Linked DNA regions of Homo sapiens: region 1 is linked to region 2. The links are contacts of gene promoters, found by promoter capture Hi-C in human tissues and cell types (Jung and others, 2019). All regions are on one chromosome and are shown on one strand. Each heading gives the region's core, a stretch centred on a gene start or on the middle of the fragment in contact. The rest is flanking DNA. Distances are from core to core; before and after follow the strand shown.

Region 1 (5,690 bases), core at 2,572-5,071, 39 kb after region 2:
CTCCAGTCAGAATGGCTATTATTAAAAAGTCAAAACATAACAGACGGTGGTGAGCTTGCGGAAAAAAGGGAATGCTTATACACTGCTGGTGGTGATACAGACAGGAGGCAGGGAAATACTGGATAGAAGAGGGCGGTTCCCTGGCAAAGCCCTGCCCACAAGCCTGGAAACCCATGGCCCTAAATGGGAACAGGCATTCCTGCTTTTGCACCCAAAAGTTGTCTTTCAGCTTACCATGCCCCTCTACCTTGTACCCATATAAACCCCAGACCCCAGGCTCCAGAAGCAGACAAGCCGATGAGGAGATGAACAGAAGAGCAGAACTGCAGAATGATGTGGCAGAAAGAAGAGAAGGAGCATCTGAATGCCAAGAGGAGTTTGGCTGGCAGTGGTTGGAGAGATCAACCTCTGGATGGCAAAGCTCCTGGGGAAGATCATCTTCCCATTCCATCCCCTTTCCAGCTCCCCATCCATCCCATTGAGGGCCACCTCCACCACTCAATAAAACCCCCACACATTCACCATTCTCAAGTCTGTGTGCAACTTAATTCTTTCTGGATGCTGGACAAGGACCTGGGTACCAAGAGGGCACTGAACGGGTTAACACTTAAGCTGTCTGTGGATGACAAAGCTAAAAGAGTGCACTGTAACACATGCCCACTTGGGCTGTGGGAGTCGCAGGCACCCACCCCTAGACGCTACCATGGCCACTTGCCCTGGCTTTTGCACCTGCCTGTCTGCATGCTCTCCTGCCCAGTAGGGGTTTGACAGCGCACACGGTGGCCAGACAAGCCACACCCCTGTTGCACATCCTGCCAAGGGGAGTCAGGGAACTCTCCAGTTTCATCAGGAATGCAATTAGTTCAGCCACTGTGGAAAGCAGTTTGGAGATTTCTGAAATAACTTAAAACAGAACTACCTTTCAACCCAGCAATCCCATTACTGGGTATATACCCAAAGGAATATAAATCATTCTGTCATAGACATATGCACACATATTTTCATTATAACACTATTCACAACAGCAAAGACATGTAATCAACTTAGATGCCTGTTAACAGAAGACTAGATTAAAAAAAAAATACACCATGGAATACTACACACGTATAAAATAGGATGACATAATGCCTTTTGCAGCAACATGAATCGAGCTGGAGACCATTATTCTAAGTGAATTAATGCAGGAACAGAAAACCAAACACACACTGCATGTTCTCACTTATAAGTGGGGGCTAAACATTGAGTCCACATATGTGGACACAAAGAAGGGAACAATAGACACAAGGTCTACTGTGGGTGGAGGGTGGGGGGAGAGTGAGGATCAAAAAACTCCCTATTAGATACTACGCTCACTACCTGGATGACTACGTAATCTTTACACCAAACCCCACTGACACACATTTTACCCACATAATAAACCTGCACATGTACCCGCTGAACCTAAAATAAATGTTGGAAGGAAATAAAGTTACAACCAACTCTTGTACTGTTGTGAGGAAACAATCATATGTGTTGACAAAAAATCAACTACTAATAGATTTATAATAGTATATATGTAGCAGGAAAATATCAGATATAACCTATGTACCCAAAAGTATGACTTAAAAACAGCATGACAGTCTTTATGAAGGGATATTGTGCAACTACCAGAAGCATATTTTCAGAGATTATTTATTAACATACGATAATGACTACATTGAGTGGTTTTTAGAAGCATGAATTGAAACTATGTACAAGCATGACTTTATTGAACTTACAAATAACATTACACACACATTTACATAATTATAAGTATGCTTATACGTTAATAATTTTTACTTATTTATATTCATATGTAAGGCCAATAGGAACTAATCTCTATATCTGAGTGATTATTTCATAGATAATTTATGTTTGTTCTGTAAAAATATAAACACTGTTATGGCTCTTCCAAGTATCCTGAAAGGATACAGCTTATAATTAAACAACAACAATTTTAGAAATAATTATTTTAGATGAGGCTATGACGAATCTAGTTTCATTGCACACTTTAACTTTGGAACATTTCATGAAGCGTCCCTTGATCACGACTCTCATATTCAGGAGTTTTTTGAGATCAAAATGGGACAATCAGTATGAATCCATTTCTTAGACATGCAAATGGATAACTTCAAATAACAGTAGTGATTTAATCAGCGTGCACAGTTGCTCTGGGACAAAACTTGGAAATGAGCATATTTTTAGATTCTTAATGTTTTACACACTTTAGCAGTCCACAGCACCATTACATACTTATTTTTCTACTAAAATACCTTGGTAGAAATTCACAGTAGAGATCAGGCTTGTCCTTCATACATTAACTAATCAAGTAGGAAAATGCAAATGAGAACACAGTGCCAAACATAGGCACCACATGGAAACAAGTATGAGGCTGTCAGGAAGCCATTTTTGTAGCTTTGTAGCCCAATTATATTTTTCCTAATGTATTGCACACAAAACTTGGGGGAAAAAAAAGAGGCAGAGAGAAAACAGGTTCTATCAGCCCTGTCTCACAATCCACAAGTTCATCCTATCAGAGGAGGAACTATGTAAAACAAATTTTATTGATTGAATGTCCTATTTAATCGCAAAACTGTATGAGAACACGCTTGTGACTTATTTAGCAGCTTGTTTGCTTTCCACTGGCTTCACGAGTGTCCTCTGGAAAAAGAAAGTACATTTGGAACCCTGTACACCTTTTCTTTCTCCAGTACCCTCTTCTCACTTCCATCACTAAGGTGATAGAAGCAACTAGGGGCAATGCATTTGTAGCACACCTGAGTCAGAGGTATCCGCCAGGGGAAGGATCAGACCTGATTGAAAGCACGTCGTTGGAATTCGGAGGCTTCCAGTAGCTGTAACGTAAACAATGATGTTTACTGTTCCCTGCCCTCCACTTTGATCACTCTGGGAAACGTTTTTTTAAAAAATCAATTGTATTGAAACATAATTTACATAAAATAAATACTCCTATTTTAAAGTGCACAGTTTGCTGAATTTTGCCAGATGTAACCTCCCAGGTGTATAAAATTGATTAAACTGATCTTTCAAATAATAAATTAACCTTGCAATCTTGTTAGAAATTTCATTTGCTCACAGTTTATTATCCATTCTATGTACTGCTATATTCAATTGGTTATTATGTTTTAAGAACTTTTGAGTCTATGTTTATGAGGAATAAATATCAAAGTTGTATAATGCCTTTGTCTCGATTTAGAATCAGGGCAATACTGGGTTCATAAAATAAGGCAGTAAGGGTCCCTTTAATTTTTTTTTTTTTTTTTTTTTTTTTTTGAGACAGAGATTCACTCTTGTTGCCCAGGCTGGAGTGCGATGGTGCAATCTCGGCTCTCTGCAACCTCTGCCTCCCAGGTTCAAGCTATTCTCCTGCCTCTGCCTCACGAGTAGCTGGGATTACAGGCATGTGCCACCATGTCCGGCTAATTTTGTACTTTTAGTAGAGATGGGGGTTTCTCCACGCTGGTCAGGCTAGTCTCAAACTCCTGACCCCATGTGATCTGCCCGCCTCGGCCTCCTAAAGTGCTGGGATTACAGGTGTGAACCACTGTGCCCGGCCCTTAAATTCTATTTCTTAAAAAGAGTCCGTTCAAGATTGGCATTATAGATACTCCTCAACTTACAATGGGCTTGTCTTAATGAACTCATCCTAAATTGAAAATATTTTAAGTCTAAAACGCATTTAATATATTTAACCTACTGAATATCATGACTTAGCCTCGCCTACCTTAAACTTGCTCAGAACACTTTTATTAGCCTACAATTGGGCAAAATCATCTACCACAAGGCCCATTTTAAAATATTGAGTATCTCATGAAATTTATTGAAAACTATTCTGATAGTGAAAAACTGGTCATATTGATGCTCATCATTAATGTACACACATGAAAGCACCATTATCAAGTCAAAAGAGCACAAGGTCAAACCACTGTAAGTTGAGGACTCTCTGTACTTTCTTAAATGTTTGATAGAATTCACCTAAGAAACCATGCAGCCCGGAATTCTTATAGAAATTTTTAATTAAAAAAAATTCTTCAATACATAGAGAAGCTATTATTTCTTTCTTTTTGCATCAGTTTTAAGAATTAGTTTTACAAATAATTTCCCATGTTATTTGTCAAATTGTATTGGCCTAAAGTTTTCATAATTATATTGATGTCTATAGGTTCTGTAATTACAAACTATTTAATTCCTGTTATCTAAATTTTGTAGCTTCTCTAATTTTTTTCTGTGATAAATCTTGCTAGCCATTGTTCATTAAAACATTTTTGTCAAAGAACCAATTTGTGGGTGTATTAATTAGCTCCACCTTTGGTTATTTGCTATGTTGTTGCTTTTTTATCTTTATCTCCTTCTTAATTTGGATATACTTTGCTCTTCATTTTTTTAGCTTTTTAAAAAAGAACCTAGAGGTCATTGATTTAAGCCTTTTATTTTCAATATTACATCTAAATTTACCTTTAAGAAATGATTTATCTGCATCCCATGTTTTAAGTTTTTAAAAATTTTTCTTTCAGTTTAAGCTATTTTGTGTGTGCGTGTGAAACTTTTCTTGGCCCATGAGTTTTTCTGAAGTATTTTGTAGCTTAATGTTCAAATGTTGGGGTATTATTTTATACATCCTAGTGTTGTCCATCTCTGGTTCATGAAACAATCCATGTTCTCCATTGCACTTAGTTGACATGTCTCCATGTCTCTGGAGAATTCCTCAGTCTTTGTAAAATGCTTTTGAAGAATACTGGCAGTTATTCTGTAGAACGCCCTTCCTCGATTTCAATTTGTCTGATGTTTTCTCATGATTAGGACTAAAGTTACACATTTTGTCTAAGAATACCATAGAACTGATGTTTTGTCCTACTCAGTGCATCATATAAGAAGTTACATGAAGTTCATTTACCTTATTATTAGTAATGTTAACTTTGATCACTTGGCTAAGGTAGCATCTCCACTTTGAAGTTACTATTCTGTAATTATCCTGTGGGAAGATACTTTCATATTATGCAAATATGTTCTTTCCCAACATATATTCACCACTAATCTTAGCATCCCTCCAAGGTTCTTTCTTCCTACAATTACTATGATATTTGCAAAATGATGATTCTTGCATTTTATGTCTCCTACATTTAATAAAATCTTACTGTAATAAAATACTGCCCATTCTCCCCCTTTGGTTTATATTTAATGTATTATTTATGTCAATATGGATTCATTAATTTTTTTTTATTTTTGAGATGCAGTCTTGCTTTGTCGTCCAGGCTGGAGTGCCAAGGTGCGATCTCAGCTCACTGCACTTCCACCTTCCGGGATTCAAGCCATTCTCCTGCCTCAGCCTCCCAAGTAGCTGGGACTACAGGCATGTGCCACCATGCCCAGCTAACTTTTGTATTTTTAGTAGAAGCGGGGTTTCACCACACTGGTCAGGCTGGTCTCGAACTCCTGACCTCAAGTGATCTGCCCGCCTCGGACTCCCAAAGGGCTGGGATTACAGGCATGAGCCACTGCACCCGGCCTGGATTAACTGAAAATTTTCTTCTGTAGATTGTAATATATTACTATTGTTATTTATTTTATTGCCCCAATTTTCTCAAATTTGGCTATGTAACTTTATTCAAAGTGGATTCTGTTTCCTTTTCACATTTTCCCCGTTTTGTATT
Region 2 (5,957 bases), core at 1,564-4,063:
ATTTCAGAAAATATAAAGTCTTCCCCTTTCTTCTTTTGCCAAGGAAGTCTAATATTTTCACCATTTTTATGCACACAATCAACTTTATTTAACCTGGAAGTTAATGTCTCATTGTTTTCATTGTTCTAAATAAACACCTTTTCCCTTGAGTATTGTTCTAAAAATTTTGAAGTCGTCTGAAAAATTTTGTTCTGATTTTTCACGGTTGTGTTGATGATATGCGAAAAGGAATACAGATGGTATTTAATTATGAACAAGAAAAGGTGTTAAATATCATTAGTCATTAGAAATTTGCAAATTAAGACCACAATGACTAACACATATATATCAGAATAGCTAAAATAAAAATAAAACATCAAACGCTGAGGAGCATGAGTAAAAACTAGAGCTTTCACACATTACTGGTGGGAATGTAAAATCGTACAGCTATGCCAAAAAGGAGTATAGTAGTTTCTTAAGAAACTAAAGGAACTCAAGTCCCCAGGCCTGCAGTCTGGGCCAAGGTCACAGGCCCTGGATCAATCAGGATGGGGTTCAAGGGCCTTCCTGGGGCCATCCAGTGTTCAAGGTGCCCTTTGGTGGCCTCATCTGCCCCTCCGCCCCTGAGCACGCCCCTCTGTCCCTCCAATCCTCCCTGTCACAGGGACGTCTGTCACAGAGCCATGCCCCACCTCCTGCTTTCTGGAGATGCCAACTGCCCTCCCCATCTCTGGGTCCTGACCAAGGTGCTCTAATGGACACCCCCTGACCCAGGTCTCAGGGAGCTGCCAGCACGATGGGTCCCTAAAGCTGAGATCCAGCAAGACACATGTGGCCTGAGGGTCCCACTCTCTGGCTGGCAGAACCCAGAGGTGGGAGCACACTGGAGTGTCCTTCAGGGCATCTTCACCCCATGAGAGGGCTGGGGGCTTTGGGAGTTTGCAGCTGGCAGGAGTGAGGGCCCAGTCTCCTATCTCTGATGCGTCCTTGGTCAAATCCTGTGCCTCAGCCTGCAGGGCCTATCGTGGTCACCACATGAATGTGTTCCCTTAGTCTGGGAGCCCCAAGCAGGCAGCACCCCCTGCCAACGACTTCAGGGCACCTGGAAGTGGAGGCTGAGAAGTCTCCCACTTCGCAGAGCTGGGCTCTGGCCCAGAGGCCTTCTCGTTGGCTCAGGTGGTCTCTCGGGCTCCTGGGGCCACAGATCAGGGGACAAACACGGGCAGCTCTGCTCTGCTCTGCCTAAAGAGAGGTGCCCAGTGAATGCAGGTTCCAGACAAAAGGTGGAGCCTGGCATCCTGCCCTGCGTGTGGGCTCCAGCCTGCTGCCATCTGGGGAAACTGAGTCATGGCGAGGCTCGAGGATGTTTCTCAGACCACACCAGTCCCTGAAGGTCCCCTGACCTCCCAATTTTGATGGACAGTAAGAAGAGGTTCCCAGGCCGCCTGCCACAGGTTCTGACTCGGCCTGGGTTAGGGTAAGTCTCCGGGCTGCTGTCCTCAAAAGCCCCATCAGGAGGCTGTGTCAGGCCAGGCGCACCGTGGTGACAGCAGCATGGACTGAGGGTTCTGGCCGCGGGAGAGGCCAGGACGGGGGGAGGTCAGGTCCAGGAGGAGGGCACTGGCCGGCACATGGTGGGGCTGGAGAGACCCTGGGCGGGGTGGTGGGAATGGCCCAGGAGGAGCTCCGGCTCCTGTGGCTGGAGTGAGGGTGTGGGCTGTGGTGGGAGAGGGGGTGAAGGTGGAGAGAACAGGGGCCCAGAGGTCTGTGCTGTAGGAAGGGTATGGACTTCCTAGTGAGGACTTTCTGGTGGGGGGCTCTCAGAGAAGAGGAGGCCGGAGGGGCTGGGGGTCCCCAGGACTGCATGCGCCAGGCAGACGGAGGGGAGGCCGAGCCAGGAGCCGCAGGCTTCTCAGTGCCAGACCAACGTCGCCCTCCGCTGGCCGTGTGGGGAATCGCGCCTAGGCTGGGGCTCCCCTGGCCCCAGGTTAGGGGGACTCCGATGTGTCCTGGGGCGCTTCCTGCCCATCCAGCCTCCGCCAGGCAGCCTGGCCCTGAATGGCTTTGAGGGCAGCCTCCGCAGCACAGGACCTGCCTCCGCCCTGTGGGGCAGATTTGGGCGTCTGACTCTGGACACTTACCCAGAGGCTGAATTCAACTCCCCAGCGAAGAGCACACTCAGACTCCCTCCCCGCTGTGCCCAGCCTGAGGGGACCCTGGCTTGGACTTGGGAGGAGAAGGCCAGAGGCCAGGGCCTGGCTCTCAGGCACTAGGTGCAGGAGAAAATGGAGCAGAGTTCCTGCAGGAACTGCCTCAGACTGCCCCCGAGGGGACCTGGCCTGGAACCCTCCCTGTGCTACCAGGCTGCTGTTGGGGCCAGGAGGGCAGGGAGAGCAGCCACCTGTACGGCATCAAGTAACACTATCAGTCAGCACACCCAACACCCACACGACAGCCACAGCCCTCTGCCCTGAGGTGGCTGCAACTGAGCAGAGTCTCCTGTCTTGTTCACCCTGAGCGCGGAGCTCCGCACAGGACAGGATCAGAGCGCAAACCAGGAACAAATGGATGAACCAAGGAAGGGGCCAGGGCAGTAGGTCCCCACCCACACCCTGAACCCTAAGGGTGGGACTCAGAGGCTGGAGACGGGCTGGCCCCAGGATCCTCTAAGTGACAGGAACCCTTGGCCACTGTTGATTGCCCCGAGGCGGGGACAGGGATGGTGGGGCTGGGGCTGCCTGGCCCTTTAAGAGGGCAGTTCTGCCCACCACCCTGAATGCCCCTCCCCTAGCTACTGGAGAAGAGATCCCGTTTCTTGGCAACAGGAAGCTCTTGGTTTACACAGTGTCACCCAAGCGACTGGGAGCCGCGTCCTGCTCTGGGACTGAGCCGTTGGAGCTGCCCCGCTGACCGCACTAGGCTGACCGCAACCGGCTGACCACACACAGTCCTCACTCCCCTGGCCCTGGTGGGCGGCAGGCACCATGGCGCAGACAGTGCCGCCCTGCGAGCTGCCCTGCAAAGAGTACGACGTGGCCCGTAACACGGGCGCCTACACGTCCTCCGGCCTGGCCACCGCCAGCTTCCGCACCTCCAAGTACCTGCTGGAGGAGTGGTTCCAGAACTGCTATGCTCGCTACCACCAGGCCTTCGCCGACCGCGACCAGTCGGAGCGGCAGCGGCACGAGAGCCAGCAGCTGGCCACAGAGACCCAGGCGCTGGCGCAGCGCACGCAGCAAGACTCCACGCGCACAGTGGGCGAGCGACTGCAGGACACGCACAGCTGGAAGTCGGAGCTGCAGCGTGAGATGGAGGCGCTGGCTGCGGAGACCAACTTGCTCCTGGCCCAGAAGCAACGGCTGGAGCGCGCCCTGGACGCCACAGAGGTGCCCTTCTCCATCACCACTGACAACCTGCAGTGCCGTGAGCGCCGCGAGCACCCCAACCTCGTGCGCGACCATGTGGAAACGGAGCTGCTGAAGGTGCCAGCACCCTTGGGTGGCCGGGATTTGTGGGCGCAGAGAGGAGGAGCCCCCCCCCCCGCAGTTCATGTGGACAAGCCACGTGGCTGCTGCAAGCACGCGGGAGCCCAGCCCTCTGCACGTGAGACCCCTGAGTCCCGAAATCTGGCCCCTTAGTGACAGGAGGCAGCTTTGCCCCAGAAGACCCCTGACTTCCAAGCAGCTGTTTCTCCTCTCCTCCTCTAATCCCTTTGAGTCCTGGCACAGTCATCCTGACCCTGGGCTCCCTGGGCTAAGCCACAAGGCACCTCCCCAGAGACCCTCCCTCGCTGGGACAGTTGCTCCCAAGGTGGAAACCCAGGTCTGGGCCAGCACTGCAGGTGTGGACAGGTAAGGTGGGGTGGGCTGGGAGCCACTGCTCCCATTCATCCTATACAGAGCCGGGGACACAAAGATCTGCACCCACAGGTCCCCTCTCCTCCATGTCCCCTATAACTTCCCAATCCACCCCAGCTTGTCTGTGGGGCAGCCCCACAGGGTGAGAGAGTAACTCAGTCCTGGCCCAGATGCTGGCTCTGGAGAATTCTCTGACCTCTCAGAGCCTGGGGCCTCCCTGAGAACCACTACAGGCCTGTAGACATTCGTGAAAGATGTGGGGTGGGGGCAGCTGGTCTCCTGCCATACCCCAAGCTCAGGCAAGAACCCTTGAGTCCCTCCCTCCCCTCATGCCTTCCCTCCTCCCTTCTTTACCCTTCTGCAGGCCCTTCCCCCTGCACTCTCTCAGTGCCTCAAGAACTCCTGCAGCTCCCGCAAACTCTCTGCCCGCAACAAGGGCACCTGCCAACTGATGGAGACACTGACAGTGCACGGAGAGGCAAACCCAGGGATAGAGGGGCGCAGGACCCGGGCCCTGGCACACAAGGAAGTACCCAGTGGTTGAGGCAAAGACCCCAATCACAGAGAAAAGGCTTGTTCCTACACACAGCAAATTAAACTGGCCAGGCAATAAGAAGAAACACAGGGTCCTTCTCCTGTTCTTGGTGTGAAGATGGCCTTTCCCAGCACAGAGCCCTGAGGGGCAGCCTGGGCGGGCATCTGGGCCCCCAGAGTTTGGGTCCTCAGGGGCTGTCCAGAGGCCAAGGGCAGGCCAACGTTCCCAGGTGCACTGAGTGAGCAGCAGCGATGACTCCTGAAGCCTGGGGCGTGGGAACTGCCGCTGAGGGACCTTCCCAGCAGCCCACAGAAGGCCCTGGAGGAAAACACCCCACTTACAACGCACCAAGGAGAATGCCCAAAAGCCCAAGATAAACCCAGTGAGAGAGCAGAACTTACACAGTCAGAGCTCAGGCCCGGCATTCAACTCCTTGTGGTTGCTCAGGTGTTGACCAAGGCCTGCAGCAGCTGGGCCTCCTGGGATCCTCACCAGGGACTGGCTCTGGTGCTCAGGGCGTCTCCTCCCTCAGGAAGCCGAGCTCATCCGGAACATTCAGGAGCTGCTGAAGAGAACCATCATGCAAGCAGTGAGCCAGATCCGGTGGGTAGAGGGCTGCCCAAGGGATGATTCCTGACCCTACCCACAGCTGGTCCTGGGGCAAGGCATTGAACGACAGGACCCTGAGACTCAGAGCCAGCAGGGGCTGCCCCAGGTCACAGTGGAGCGCAGGACTGGGTGGGGGAGGTTCCGGCGCAGCCTGAGGTTGAGTGGCCAGAGCCCAGTGCCACATCTGATCTGCAGCCTCCCAGCCTGGGCCGCAGCTCCTGGTCACTGCTGAGCACGAGGGCTGCCCGGGACAGGCCCACCCAGAACTCCCTCCTGAGGCAGGCATTGGGGCCCAGCCTGCAGCACAGAGGGTCCCCAGCAGGGCCCTCCCTGGGCACACATCAAGGCCCTGCCCCACCCCGCCCCAGACTGAACCGGGAGCACAAGGAGACCTGCGAGATGGACTGGTCAGACAAGATGGAGGCCTACAACATCGACGAGACCTGCGGGCGCCACCACAGCCAGAGCACCGAGGTGCAGGCTCATCCGTACTCCACCACCTTCCAAGAGAGGTGGGCCCCAGCTCTGCCCCTGCACTTGCCCTGGCTGTGGTCTCGCCTCCCTCTGCCTGGGGGCCCCAGCGGCGCTGCTTTCACCAGCCTGGCCCGGAGGCCCTCGCCCCCGAGGGCACTTGGGCAACTGTCTGCCCCTGGCATGAGCAAGCGACCAAGACCTCCTCAAATGTCCAGCGCGTGCACAGCCTGGCTGCCGGCAGACAGGACAGAGTAGGGTGGGGTCAGACCCAGGCGCTGGCAGGATTGCGTTTCCGCCCAAGGCCAGCAGAGGGAGCCTGACCACCGCCCACTAGAGGGCGGCAAACTCCTGGGAGCAAAAAGAGGGCGCGGGCGCTGGGTACTAGGGAAGGGGGGCTGCGGGGGCCGGAGGTGCTGCAGAGGGGGCCTCCGGGGCAGCGGTGCTGGGAACGGGGTCGCGGGGGCACGAGGGGACTAAGTGCCCGGGGTGGGTAGGGTGTGGGG

Evidence for each region. Contacts are between HindIII fragments. The study calls those that stand out against the background at their distance.
Region 1: a fragment that was not itself captured here is called in contact with the fragment with the promoter of TEKT4 in region 2 in 2 of the 25 tissues and cell types used here (hippocampus and spleen).

What each region holds. Positions count from the first base shown.
Region 1 is chr2:94,906,373-94,912,062 of GRCh38, forward strand. The region is part of intron 5 of LOC442028 (a long non-coding RNA gene); the gene reads right to left. Among named protein-coding and RNA genes, the nearest start is that of TEKT4, 38 kb to the left of the region's middle. The HindIII fragment of the contact is 7,749 bases long and covers 1-5,690 here.
Region 2 is chr2:94,868,617-94,874,573 of GRCh38, forward strand. It overlaps TEKT4 (tektin 4), which reads left to right and starts at 2,814. Exons shown (of 6, transcript NM_144705.4): 1 at 2,814-3,461; 2 at 4,904-4,974; 3 at 5,349-5,492. The coding sequence starts at 2,964. LOC442028 (a long non-coding RNA gene) reads right to left here. Exons shown (of 10, transcript NR_037597.1): 9 at 4,773-4,936; 10 at 69-2,081. RefSeq lists enhancers at 1,611-2,124, 2,638-3,151, 5,052-5,913. The HindIII fragment of the contact is 10,124 bases long and covers 1-5,957 here.